2 separate regions of the Homo sapiens genome follow, and region 2 is linked to region 1. Evidence: promoter capture Hi-C in 16 types of primary human blood cells and fetal thymus (Javierre and others, 2016). All regions are on one chromosome and are shown on one strand. The core of a region is centred on a gene start or on the middle of the fragment in contact, and the rest is flanking DNA. Distances in the headings are between cores, read along the strand shown. Region 1 holds the start of SLFN5 (schlafen family member 5). Region 2 has its middle 55 kb from the start of SLFN5.

Region 1 (6,659 bases), core at 4,160-6,659:
CCTCACCTACCATCCTCTTTGGCATGCAGTGGACAGCCATCACTGGACTTCTTTGATGCAGGTGCCCCTCTCACCAGTGCTTTCTGGCAGTCTTGGTGAGTGGCGTGTAATCTGGGACATGTCATAGAACAAAATCCTCTAGCTGCATTACTTCTGGTCTTACCTAATATATCCATTCCTTCATGCTCATTTCCCTCAAACTCTTTATTTCTTCCTCTACCATATGTCAGGGGAATTTGGGCATTTCCATGTTGCTGAGAGTTGGGAGTCAATGAAAGATGAGAGAGCTGTCAGACAATGATGCAAGTCTGATCCTGTGTGGAGGAGAGGGGAAAAAGATTGGGTGGAAGTATGCCAGATATTTACTCAAAGTCAAGCAAAAGTTGGCCATTAGAGGCATCCTTTGTCTCCTAGGAGAAGGCCTGCCCTGCTGTCCTTGCCATACTCAGTCATCAGCTGGGAGCAGCCCATGGAAGCATGGCCTTCACACAAATGTGCAATGGATTTCAAAGTGAGGCAGCTGGGGTGCTTTGTGAATTAAGCTCCAAGTTGAGGTCTTTGAAGTGCATTCTCACAATTGCCAGAGTGTCCTTTACAGCAAAAAGAATTTTTTTTCTAGTCCGAGCTACAGCCTAGGATTACATGGTGACTTTGTCTTGTCTTTTTAATGTTCTTCAATCTAGAACAGTCTTTCCATTTGGGTTTGGGTTTAACGTTTTCTTTTCTTTTTACTTTGAGACAGGGTCTTGCTATATTGCCCAGGCTGGTCTTGAACTCCTGGCCTCAAGCAATCCTCCTGCCTCAAACTCCCAAGTAGCTTGGACTACAGGTGGGCACCATTGAACCCTCTAATGTTTCCTTATAGTTACTTTCTATTGTGCTGTTTTGTTTTGTTTTATTGGGTCAGGAATACATAAGAAATAAAAATTGTTCTTTTAGTGGCATGCAATTTAATTTGTCCTGTTACTAATGATGTTAACTTTGATCACTTGGTTGAGGTGATATATTCCAGGATTCTCTGGAAAATTAGTGTCTTTTTCCTTTGTAATAAATAGAGCATCTTGTGGGGATATGCTTTGAGACTCTGTAATTACCCTCAGTGTGCTAAAGATCTGAGGGGATATAGAGAGAAAATTCTGAGTCACACTTTCATTTCATGTAGCTGAAAAAGCAACTTAAACATTGGACTTGACTGAAATTAAGCTTGGACTTAACTGAGCTCCTTCAGGAAAAGCTTAATTACTTACTGAGACAGGAAAATCATCAGGACACTCTCGGATCTCAATGTGGGTACTGGGAGTGCCAGAGAACCAAGATTCTCCCTCCCACTCTCTCTGATGTGTGTGATTCATATGAACATTGATAAAGGATGTCTCATCCCTCCTTCAAGTAAACTTGTTCTGACAAAATTTCACCACACTTTGTCAAATGGCAAACATTGTTCCTAAGAAACATCATATACGTGTTTATGCAAATTTTGTTTTTTAAACTTTTTATCAAGAAAAGAAAAAAAGTGGAAAATATGTTTTTGCCTGAAAAGTGAATATTATAAACAAGTAGCTTGGGTTTGAAAGATAGTCTGTGGAAACACAGATAAGGCTCTATGCTAAGATGCTTGCTGCTATAATCCTCAGTCCCCTAGTAAAAGTTTCTGCAAAAAGCTTGGCCAGCCATGATGCCATTGAGCATTGACCCCCATAATCAATCTCCCTGTGACTCTCACGGAGAATGCTGAAGCAAATTTTCTGTAGTGAGGGATCTGTAGACCATGGCATGCAGCCTCCAGTCTCACTGTGCAGACTGAGGACAGTGACACAGGTCATTGACACACGGCTGACCTAGGCAGTGATTCTCCCTACACTAATACAGTGATTCTTTCTGTGAGAGACTGCCTGCCCTTAATAAGATAACATGCCCCTTTGGCCGGGCACAGTGGCTCACGCCTGTAATCCCAGCACTTTGGGAGGCCGAGGCGGGCGGAACATGAGGTCAGGAGACTGAGACCATCCTGGCTAACACAGTGAAACCCCGTCTCTACTAAAAATACAAAAAAAAAAAAAATAGCTGGGTGTGGTGGCGGGCACCTGTAGTCCCAGCTACTCAGGAGGCTGAGGCAGGAGAATGGCATGAACCTGGGAGGTAGAGCTTGCAGCGAGCCAAGATCGAGCCACTGCTCTCCAGCCTGGGTGACAAAGCGAGATTCTGCCTCAAAAAAAAAAAAAAAAAAAAGAATAACCTGCCCCTTTAACCTACCAACTCTCTTCTCCTCTTTAGTTTGTTGAAGCAAAAACAACGTAAATATTGCATTAACCAAGTGTGTGTATGAGAGAGAGAGAGAGAGGAGAGAGAGAGAAGAGAGAGAGAGAGAGAGAATGAGCAGTTATGGCTCTTGGCATTTTTTACTGGACAAGGCAAACCTAAAGATTTTACTTTTAAACTTGAATTAATGCTGAGAGTAAGTCACATCTGCCCTCACTTCCCTCCCACTCCACACAAACATGCATACCACTGGAAAGGCAACATTTTATCAAAGGCATTTGGCGTTTTTCCTCTCTTATGACCCTCTAGAAGCTTGAGAATGTGGGAGAGAAGGGCTGGAACCAGAAATGGAGAAGTAGTGCTGGAACAATAATGACCTGAAAGCCAGTGGAACTGAGGTCTCCTGCAGGAACTTTTGGGGAGGCCTGGATACTTTGGAGACCAATGGGTATGGATGGAAAGAAGAGCAGAAATGATTCAGCTCATAAAGCAGTGAAAAGGAATGATCTAAGTACATGAACAAATCTTTAAAGCAAAATGTTAAAGTGTGGGAGCAAGTTCTACAGAACACATACAATATGATACTTTTTTTTTTTTTTTTAAAGAGACAGGGTCTCACTCTATTGCCCATGCAGGGGTGCAGTGGCACAATCAGAGCTCATAGCATCCTTCAACTCCTGGGCTCAAGCCATCTTCCCACTTCAGCCTCCTGAGTAGCTGGGACTTCATAGGCAGGCACCACCACACCCAGCTAATTTAAAACAATTTTTTTGGCTGGGCGCGGGGGCTCACACCTGTAATTCCAGCACTTTGGAAAGCCGAGGCAGGCAGATCATGAGGTCAAGAGTTCGTAGACCAGCATGGCCAATATGGTGAAACCTTGTCTCTACTAAAAATACAAAAATCAGCTGGGCGTGGTGGGATGTGCCTGTAGTCCCAGCTACTTGGGAGGCCAAGGCAGGAGAATTGCTTGAACCCCGGAGGCCGACATTGCAGCAAGCCGAGATTGCGCCACTGCACTCCAGCCTGAGTGACACAGCAAGACTCCGTCTCAAACAAACAAACAAACAAACAAACAATTTTTTTTTTTTAGAGATAGGGTCTTGCTATGTTGCCCAGGCTGGTCTCAAACTCTGGGCCTCAAGCCGTCTTCCCTCTCAGCCTTCCAAAGTGCTGGAATTACAGTCGTGAGTAACTGCACCTGGCCAACATGATGCCATTTACATGCAGCTTAAACGCATATACATGTGTTGAATCAGTGTCATGTGTTGATGAGGGACATAAACACATTTACTAAAAGTATAAACAGTTGCATGGGAATTAGTAACTTTAAATTCATAAAATTGTACTGGCTATCAGGTGAGTAGGGGACAAGTGGAATGAGGGAATGAGACCAGCTGGGTACCCAAATATTGCTAATGTTATTGCTTAAGCTGTGTGGTGAATACACAGGTGTTCAATTTACTATTATTTCGCACTTTCCGTGTACTTTAGCTATTTGACAATACATTTAAAAATCGAAAACTTATCCCATAATCCCAGGCTCCAGAGGTGATAGTAGGTGGTGTTTTCCAGACCTTTCCCGCTGCCTTGATTTTCTGTTAACTGGCCACCATCCTTGTCTCCTCGCGCTGCCGGTCGCTGCAGAACCCCTGCGCGGAGGGACTGCCAGTTCCCAGGAAGGTGCAGGACAGCTGGAGCCTCTTCTTCTCTGGGCAGGGATTTAAATGTTCTTGGGTAGCCTCGCCAGAGACCTGTGCGGCCCTACAGTGACCTTCTTTCCAGCCACTTTCCCATGAGCTCAAAGCTTTGGATTCTGTCACTTGCAAAGGGTCAGGCCTGATCCCTTGCGGGTTCTTGAGAAGTGAGTAAGACTTCCAGCGCCCCGGCCCAGACTGCGACGACCCAGACTGCGACGACCCAGTCTGCGCCTGGCGCAGGCTCCATAGACGGCTTTTCTTCAGCTCTGTCCACTGAGACCTCGAGCCCTTGAGCAGAAGATGGGAGAGAGAGGGTCTTGCTGGGCGGGCTCCAGAAGTCCTCCTGGCTCTGGGCGCAGGAGTTGGAAGAGAAGAGATAGAGAAACATCTACTCACCAGAATTGTAAACTGGAAGAAGGGTAGAGGAAAGGTGCCTAGAGAGGGCAGCTGGAATCAGGATTGGGCTGAATATTTTAGGAGTCCCCAAGTGCTACTTCTATCCGCTGGGAGCACGGGTTCGAATCTGCCCCCAGGCAGCCCGCTCCTGGTTCTCTTGTCCCCCTGTGCTGCGGCGGGGCCCACTTCGGCCCTCGGGTTCCCCGCACAGGCCACACAGGGCAGCAGCGCGCGCCGTACCCACGGGCAGTTCGAGAGGGCCGCGCGTGGCGGAGCCAGGCCCTTCGCCAGCGCCCAGTACAAATTTAGTACTAGAATTAAGAGAAACACACTGAAATCTGACAGCCCCGCCTAAGACCCGGGCGTGAGGAAGTCTGCGGTGGGTGATGAATACAAAGAACAGTTTCTCTTTCCTGTCAGTAAAACGCTGTTTCCAGAGCCTGCCAGGTTTCGCCCCAGTGGCCACACCTATGCCTGGCAGGTGCTGGTCCGAGCCCCTAGCGCCAGCAAAAGAAAGGAGGCGGACGCAACATTCTCGAATTACTAGGAGAAGGAGGGAGGCTTTCCCTTCCCCCCAGTGCCCCATGTACCAACGCGTCTCGCCATACCCCTTGCCCCTCTTCCAGCAGCTGACGGAGTAATTCGAGTAGGAATCGAAAGATTTGGAGGCGCCGGGGGAGAAACCTGCGGAGCGCTCTCCGAGCCTGTGGCGTCCCAGGAAGACTCCGAGCGGGGCCAGGGAAGTTCTCTGGAGGACATGGGGTGGATACCCAGGTCTCCTTCCCTGGGTGAAATAAGAACTGAAAATCTAAAAATAAAATAAATAAAATAAAATAGAAAACACAGAGAAGCAACAAAAAAGCGCTTCCCCTCCTCAGTTCTCCCCAGTCCACCCAAGGTTTACCAAGACTGTTGTAGTTGCAAGAGTGGGCTTCCGGCTCCACGTAACGATGCGATTGGGCTGTACCTCTGTCTGTCTCCTGCGCGATGTCCCGCCCCGGGAGGTGTCACGGAACTCAGCTGATATAAGCCCGGGATCCCGCCGGGTCAGGTTCTCTGCTCTGGACTTGGGAGGCTCCGTTGCCTGCTCCCGGAGGGAGACGCGCTGCCGAGGAGAACCCAGCGGGTAATGAATCCCCCGCGCTTCTTTGCCCAGGCCTTCCCCAAACCTCCCCCCGGTCTGCGCGGGTTCTCCTATTGGGCTGTGGTGAAGACAAGGTGCGGCGACTGCAGCTCCCCAGGTCTGGGCGCTGCCGGGAGAGAGTCTTTCCCGCTGGGGAGATTTAGTTTGTTGACTCAGGAGCACCTCCAACGACAGCTAGTGGCAGAGGACCCGGGAGCTGGGAGGTTCGGAACGCGGGGCGAGCTGGGGAGGAGGGAGAGGCGCCGACCCAGCGCAGCCTACATCTTAGCAAACCAAACCTGGCAACATTTCCCCACGGTTCAGGAGCACGAAGGACTTAAGGGAAAACGACGAAATCGGGGCTCCCGAGGATGAAGTTAAATGGGTTGTGGCCTGGGGACAAATAGGGCCAATGTCCAGTCTATTACAAGAGGCTTTGTTCCAGAGGCTTGCCTATAAGCCCCTGGCTTGGAACGTCAGTCTTCAAACTGTAACAACAGGGGCAGGCTACTAGGGTAGCCCACAAAGCCCTGTATCCCCCATACAGTGACTAACTAGAGCCCTAGTTGGTCATATCCGCAGTGGCTGAGACTGCGGTGTGATTCCGTTTCCCTCTTGCATGTGTCCCGGGAGCCCGAGTTGTCGAAGCCCAAATTCAGGCTCAGGAACCTGATGTGCTGTTGATGCCAAACACTGACACACAGATGCTTGGAGACAGAGGAAGATTTATTCCATTTGGCCAAAGCGAGAAGGCAAGAGGTCAAGATCTCTCAAATCCACCCTAACAAAAAGAAGTAGTGGGGAGTTTTTATGAGACCAGGAAGTAAGGGAGGGGGAATTTCAGGGAACCTCGGGGAAAAGTCTTTCTTCGTCTCAGATTACATCTTGAACCACCAGACTTCTGGGCGTCAGCAGCTGGTCACAATGCCCTTAAAGGCATTCATTCCTTCTGCAAAATTTTTTTCTTGACTCTGAAGCTATATCCTCCTGCTTGACAAAGAAACGGTGCATCAGCAGTTTATAATTATATTGCTAGAAAAAGGAATATTGGGCAAAAAGTGGGTAGTTAACATATGCAAATAAGCAAGGGCCTCATCGGAATTTTCATGGTTTCATCACTAAAAATGTTGGGGTGCTGAAATCTTGAGGGGCTCGGTTGCACCAGAAGGGGATCCTTTGTC
Region 2 (6,659 bases), core at 2,814-5,313, 56 kb after region 1:
TGCAGGTCACATTTCTGACCCCTCCAAGAGCAGCTGAAACAACTGTTGCACAGAACCTTCAACTCTTTCCAGCCTCCAGGGTGAGACACAACTGTATATTCTAAAGGGTGATAACTGATTGGAAGGCTTTCCATCTAAGAAGTTTCATACACAGGCTCCTACCCCAGCCTGTGTATGAAACTAGTAGATCTAAGTGCTGGGAGTCCAGAGGCAGACATGACAGGAAAGTTCTGGAATATGTGAACAAACATGAGTACACGGAATGGCAGAGCATGAAAAGGGATAATAGGGTTGTAAAGCAAGGCAGTACAACAGAAAGGCTCTCGGTATCTGTGAATGTGTGTCTGTCTGGTTTGTCTGTCTGGTAAGAGGAGTTGGTACATTAGACTGGGAAGTCAGGGAGGCCTCAGTGAGCAAAAAGCTGCCATGTGAAACCCTAGGGCAGGTTCTTCTCAGTCTTGACATTCACACTGTGATTGAGTGTGGATATGAAGGATGGGACGGGCGGGGCGGGCATTGTGTCAGGTCTTGGAGAGGCCAAGAGAGGCAGAGGCAGGGGCAGGGTAGAAAAACAGAATCAGAGCAAACATTGTCAGTTGCAAATTATCACTTTTGCAACACTGAATTTTCTTGTTTTTCTCCCCTTTCCCTTTCCTTGGCTGGTTAGTTAATATATTTTTATAGCGCCCTTTTCTTTCCTTTGCATGATTGTGAAATCTTGCTGTTTACCTCTACTTTTAACACCATCCTTGTAAAGTCCCACAGTCCTCACAGTGGTCAGGCTGCATCAGCATAATGGAAAAAACAATATTTCTCCTTGATTTAACTTTGGAGAGAGTCTGACAGAAGGAGTGAGTGCTCTCAAATGCCTTCAGTTCTGCTGAGTCCTTAGGAGTCCAGTTAGGCCTTCCTGGGCCATCACTGCTTGAAGCCCAATTATGTGATTTGTCACATCTTCCTCTAGACTATACTCATGCCTAAAGAATCTCCATCCTTGAAACTCCCATTTCCTGCGTTAATTTCCAGGAAATGGACTCCCTTCAAGGATCCTCAGAAAGAATCTAAAAAAGGGTCCTTGAAGGCAGTTAATTTCTGGTTAAATAAAACATCTGCCATCTTTTCAGAATATAGACTTTTCCTTCTTACCATAAAAAACGTGAGCTTGTTCTGGGCAGTGATTTCTTTGCTAGGTCCCAAAAGTACAGGCAATGAAAACAATAATAGACAAATGGTATTGCATCAAACAAAAAAAACTACTGCACAGCAAAGGAAATAATTAACAGAGTGAAGATACAGTCCACGGATTGGGAGAACATATTTGCAAATTATACAGCATAAAATGGGCTAATATCCAAAATATACAAGGTATTCAAATGACTCAATCGAAAGAAACAAATAACTTGATTAAAAACTGGGCAAACAATGTGAATACACATTTTTCAAAATACACACAAATGGCCAATAGATATTTGGAAAAATGCTCAATATTACTGATCAGGGAAATGTAAATAAAACCACAATAATATATCACCTCATGCTGTTAGATTGACTATTACAAAAAAGATGAATGAAAACAAGTGTTGGAGAGGATGAGGAAAAAAGAAAACTCTTGTACACTGTTGGAGGAAATGTAAATTAGTACAGTCATTGATATGGTTTGGCTGTGTCCCCATCCAAATCTGAGCTTGAATTGTATCTCCCGGAATTCCCACATGTTATGGGAGGGACCCAGGGAGAGGTAGTTTAATGATGGAGGCCGTCTTTTCCCATGCTATTCTCATGATAGTGAATAAGTCTCATGAGATCTGATGGGATTATCAGGGGTTTCCTCATTTGCTTCTAGCTCATTTTCTCTTGCCACCACCATGTAAGAAGTGCCTTCACTTCCCGCCATGATTCTGAGATTTCCCCAGCCATGTGGAACTGTCCCAATAAACCTCCTTTTCTTCCCAGTCTTGGGTATGTCTTTATCAGCAGCATGAAAACAGACTAATATAGTAAATTGTTACCAGTAGAGGGGTATTGCTGAAAAGATACCAGAAAATGTGAAAGTGATTTTGGAGCTGGGTAACAGGCAGAAGTTGGAACAGTTTGGAAGCCCCAGAGGAAGACAGGAAAATGTGGGAAAGTTTGGAACTTCCTAGAGACTTGTTGAATGGCTTTGACCAAAATGCTGATAGTGATATGGACAATAAGGTCTAGGCTGAGGTGGTCTCAGATGGAGATGAGGAGCTTGTTGGGAACTGGAGTAAAGGTGGATCTTGTTATGTTTTAGCAAAGAGGCTGGTGGCATTTTGCCCCTGCCCTAGAAATTTGTAAAACTTTGAACTTGAGAAAGATGATTTAGGGTATCTGGTGGAAGAAATTTCTAAGCAGCAAAGCATTCAAGAGGTGACTTGTTAAAGGCATTCAATTTCATAACAGAAGCAGAGCATAAAAGTTTGGAAAGTTTGCAACCTGACTATGCAATAGAAAAGAAAACCCCATTTTCTGGGGAGAAATTCAAGCCAGCTGCAGAAATTTGCATAAGCAGTGAGGAGCCTACTGTTAATCCCCAAGACCATGGGGAAAATGTCTTTAGGCCATGTCAGAGACCTTCACAGCAGCCCCTCCCATCACAGGTCTGGAGGCCCAGGAGGAAAAAGTAGTTTCCTGGGCTGGACAGAGGATCCCTGTGCTGTGTGCAGCCTAGGGACTTTGACAGAACAGGAGCATCACCATCTTGGACAAACACCACCATTCTAAAGTTCCCCTTAATCAAAAACCACCTAAATCCACAGGGCATCAGCCTAAAGGCTAAGGCCAGCATGACCATAAACCATAAATGACATCTCTGACCAGAAACATTTCAACCATAAGATAAACCCCTCCCCAGAGAGATGTCAGCCCCAAGACAACCTCCCCTCCTACCAGAGACATTCCAAACCCACAATAAACTTCTTCCCCACAAAGAAACATTCCAAGCCTATGATAAGCTCTCTCACCCTAAAATCAACAAATACGCTTAATCTGTAAGAGAGTGTGCTCCTGACCAAAATCAGCCAGAAGCCCCTCTCAGGTTTATTCTCCAAAATAAACCTGTCTTTGACTGGTGAGTCACTTTTCGTGTTTCTTTCCTCTTTCTTTAACTCTTACATTTGCTGCCAAAACTCAGGATGGGTGCTGGGGGTAGAGGTTCTCCTGCAACCCAAAAAGCAGTGGACAGCAGCTGCTCATCCTGCTGGATCCTGAGAGTCTCTGGCCACCCATCTTGTCTTGTCTCTCACTTCACTTTTCTAGCAATTTGTCTGAGGAGGACAACTAACCTGAAGGGGACTGTGAGGCTCAGGCTGGGGCAAATCTCCAGTGAACCCTCAAAGCCCTCAGGTCTTAGGAATCCACCTCTGGCTGCCCACAATGGGTATTTTGCTCTCTTCCCTCCTCCCTCATCCTCTTCTCTCTCTCTCTCTCTCTCTCTCTCTCTCTCTGTCTCTCTCTCCCTCTCTTCCTTGTGAAGCTCTAGTCCAAGGGGCCCTTTGCCAATTCCAATCAGAACATCCAACATCGGACACTAATCCAGCTGACTAGTAAGATCTGCCCTCTCCTGACTTTCTCACAGCACCTGGGAGAGTCAGGTCAGCTGTCCCGGTCCTCAGAGGACCAGTGGGACTAAGCTAGAAGAAATCTTGGAGATGCCCAGTTTCTTCGCAGCTTGATCATCCTCTTTATAAAGAGGATTCCAGGTTTCTGTCTTTTATCTGTGGATGCCTAGAACAAAAACAGACACCTTCAGCTTCCTCTTACCAGTCCACATGGGTGCCAAACAATCCCACTTTCCTAAGTCCTCTCCATTGGGCTGTCTCCTTCACAATGTTGCTAAGCTTGGCTTAAAGGAAGCATAAAGCCAAAGAGTATGCTTTTTTATTGCAACATGGCCTGGCCCCAATACAAATTAGATAATGACAGCTGGTAGCCTGAAAATGGCACCTTTGACTTTCAAATTCTCAGGGACCTTGACAACTTTATAACTAGGAACAGCAAATGGCAGGAGGTTCCCTATATTCAGGCTTTCTTTTACTTTAGATCCCAACCCTCCCTGTGTCAAACTTGCACCCCTCATGAAGTCTTTCTTCTTAATGATAACCTTCCCCAGGTCTCTCCTTTCTCTGAAACTCCTTCCTCCAAAACCCCTTTGACCCTGCAGATGAACCCCCTCCATATTCTTATCCCCCTGCATCTGCTCCTCAACCTATCTGAATCCTCCACTTCAGTGACGCCTCCTGCCCGCAAGCTTTCAGCTCCAAACCCTGCTCCTTCTCCTTCTCCATCTGTTACCCATTCAAAAACTGCTCCAACCAGTCAAACCACCCTGCCATTCTCCGTCTCCAGGAAGTGGCTGCGGTTGAAGGCATTGCTCCCATTCATGCCCTTTCTCCACATCTGATTTGTCGCAGATCAAACAGTGCCTGGGATCTTTCTCTGAAAATCCCCCTGACTAGTGCAGGGAATTCCTGCACATAACCCAATCCTTTAATTTAACATGGCATATTTATATAATTCTAACCTCCACCCTCACCCCTGATGAAAAACAGCTCTCAATTTAATTAAAATGAATATTCAAGCTATGAGTATATTCAAAAGGCCTTTATGTTTTTCTCTTCATAAATCTTGTTTTCCTGGAAAAGGTTTTTTTCCCCAGTCAACTGAATTACTTTTCTCCACTCTGTCTTACCACTCTTGGTGCATATATGAAAAATCCCAAAATGACTTCTGGTGGCCTGGGACTCCTTGGGAAAACAGAAAAGCTGCCACAAATCCCGTTTTGGGAAAAAATCTGTTTTCCTTATGGAACCCCTGGAATTAAAGATGAATAAGTACCTCTCAAAATCTGTCTTTGTCTTCCAGCTATGCTTGTTTATTAGGCCCTGGAAACTGTTTTCATAGCCCTGTTCTTAAAGGGTCTCACCCAAAGGCCAGTGATCCAATTGGGAAAGGGGCAAAAAAAAAAAAAATTCTAATTACTGGATCTTCTTCTGGTTGTCTGTGTGGCTATGTATGTGTTATGTGTGCAATGCCTATTTAAAAAGCTCTAATTAATTGACCTAAGAAAAATAAGCACTTAAATCAAATATTTTTAACAGAAAAGTAAAAGCTGTGGGACCTTTCAGTTCATGTGACTTTAATCTTTAAAACTTACTAGTACAGTAAGATTAGAAATGTCTTAAAAGTTTCCAGCATACATTTTTGTTTGCATTTATTAATCAAGCAATTTCATAGTTATCTCTGCCAAATACTATAAGATGTGAAAATTTTGCATAGAGGCCACAAAACTATAACTCAGCCCAAACAGAATAATCTTTGCTTCTGTAATTTTTTAATCAATGAAACATTAATATTGGTTTAATAAAGATAGCTACATCTTGAACTATTTAGTGAAATACCCTAACTTCTAATCTTGATATTAAAGAAAAAAGAATTTATGGCCAGGCACAGTGGCTCACGCTTGTAATCCCAGCACTTTGGGAGGCCGAGGCAGGTGGATCACGAGGTCAGGAGATTGAGACCATCCTGGCTAACATGGTGAAACCCCGTCTCTACTAAAAATACAAAAAATTAGCCAGGTGTGGTGGCAGGTGCCCATAGTCCCAGCTACTCGGGAGGCTGAGGCAGGAGAATGGCATGAACCCAGGAGGCAGAGATTGCAGTGAGCTGAGATCGCGCCACTGCACTCCAGCCTGGGTGACAGAGCAAGACTCTGTCTCAAAAAAAAAAAAAGAAAAGGAAAATTTATATAAAAAAGAATCTTATATGGTAAATTCTTGTCCTAAAGTAAATTAACTGGTTGTTTAAGGAGAGGGATGTTTACAAGTCAGAAAGTCAAGGCATGTCAGAGATTGTCTGTGTAAGTCATGAAAAATTTTATAAAAGGGAGAGTATGGACAAGATGGATGAATAGGAACAGCTCTAGTCTGCAGCTCCCAGTGAGATCAGAGCAGAAGTCAGGTGATTTCTGCATTTCCAACTGAGGTACATGGCTCATCTCACTGGGACTGGTTGGACAGTGGGTGCAGCCCATGGAGGGTAAGCCAAAGCAGGATGGGGCGTTGCCTCTTCTGGGAAGCACAAGGGGTCAGGGAACTCCCACCCCTAGCCAAGGGAAGCCATGAGGGACTGGGCCATGAGGAATGGTACATTCTGGCCCAGATACTATGCTATTCCCATGGTCTTTGCAACCTTCAGACCAAGAAATTCCTTCGGGTGCCTACACCACCATGGCCCTGGATTTCAAGCACAAAACCAGGCAGCCATTTGGGCAGACATTGAGCTAGCTGCAGGAGTTTTTTTCATACCCCAGTGGCACCTGGAACCCAGCAAGATAGAACCATTCACTTCCCTGGAAAGGGGGCTGAAGCCAGGGAGCCAAGGGGTCTAGCTCAGCAGATCCCACCCCCCATGGAGCCCAGCAAGCTAAGATCCACTGCCTTGAAATTCTCTCTGCCAGCACAGCAGTCTAAAGTTGACCTGGGATGTGTGAGCTTGGTGGGGGGAGGGGGGTCCACCACTACTCAGGTTTAAGTAGGTGGTTTTCCCCTCACAGTGTAAACAAAGCCTCTGGGAAATTGAACTTGGTGGAGCCCACTGCAGCTCAGCAAAGCTACCGTAGCTAGACTGCCTCTCTA

What was found. The method cuts DNA at HindIII sites, captures the fragments that hold promoters and counts their contacts. A CHiCAGO score of 5 or more calls a contact.
Region 2: a contact is called between a fragment that was not itself captured here and the fragment with the promoter of SLFN5 in region 1, in 1 of 17 cell types (non-activated CD4 T cells). The highest score is 5.3, in non-activated CD4 T cells.

What each region holds. Positions count from the first base shown.
Region 1 is chr17:35,237,663-35,244,321 of GRCh38, forward strand. SLFN5 (schlafen family member 5) reads left to right here and starts at 5,410. Exons shown (of 5, transcript NM_144975.4): 1 at 5,410-5,481. LOC105371932 reads right to left here and starts at 6,489. Exons shown (of 4, transcript XM_047437262.1): 1 at 6,449-6,489; 2 at 5,260-5,557; 3 at 4,964-5,163; 4 at 2,381-4,308. The coding sequence starts at 6,489. The coding sequence ends at 3,861. RefSeq lists enhancers at 5,162-5,221, 5,742-5,851, 5,825-6,453. The HindIII fragment of the contact is 6,062 bases long and covers 4,065-6,659 here.
Region 2 is chr17:35,294,939-35,301,597 of GRCh38, forward strand. No RefSeq gene overlaps it. Among named protein-coding and RNA genes, the nearest start is that of SLFN5, 55 kb to the left of the region's middle. The HindIII fragment of the contact is 410 bases long and covers 3,859-4,268 here.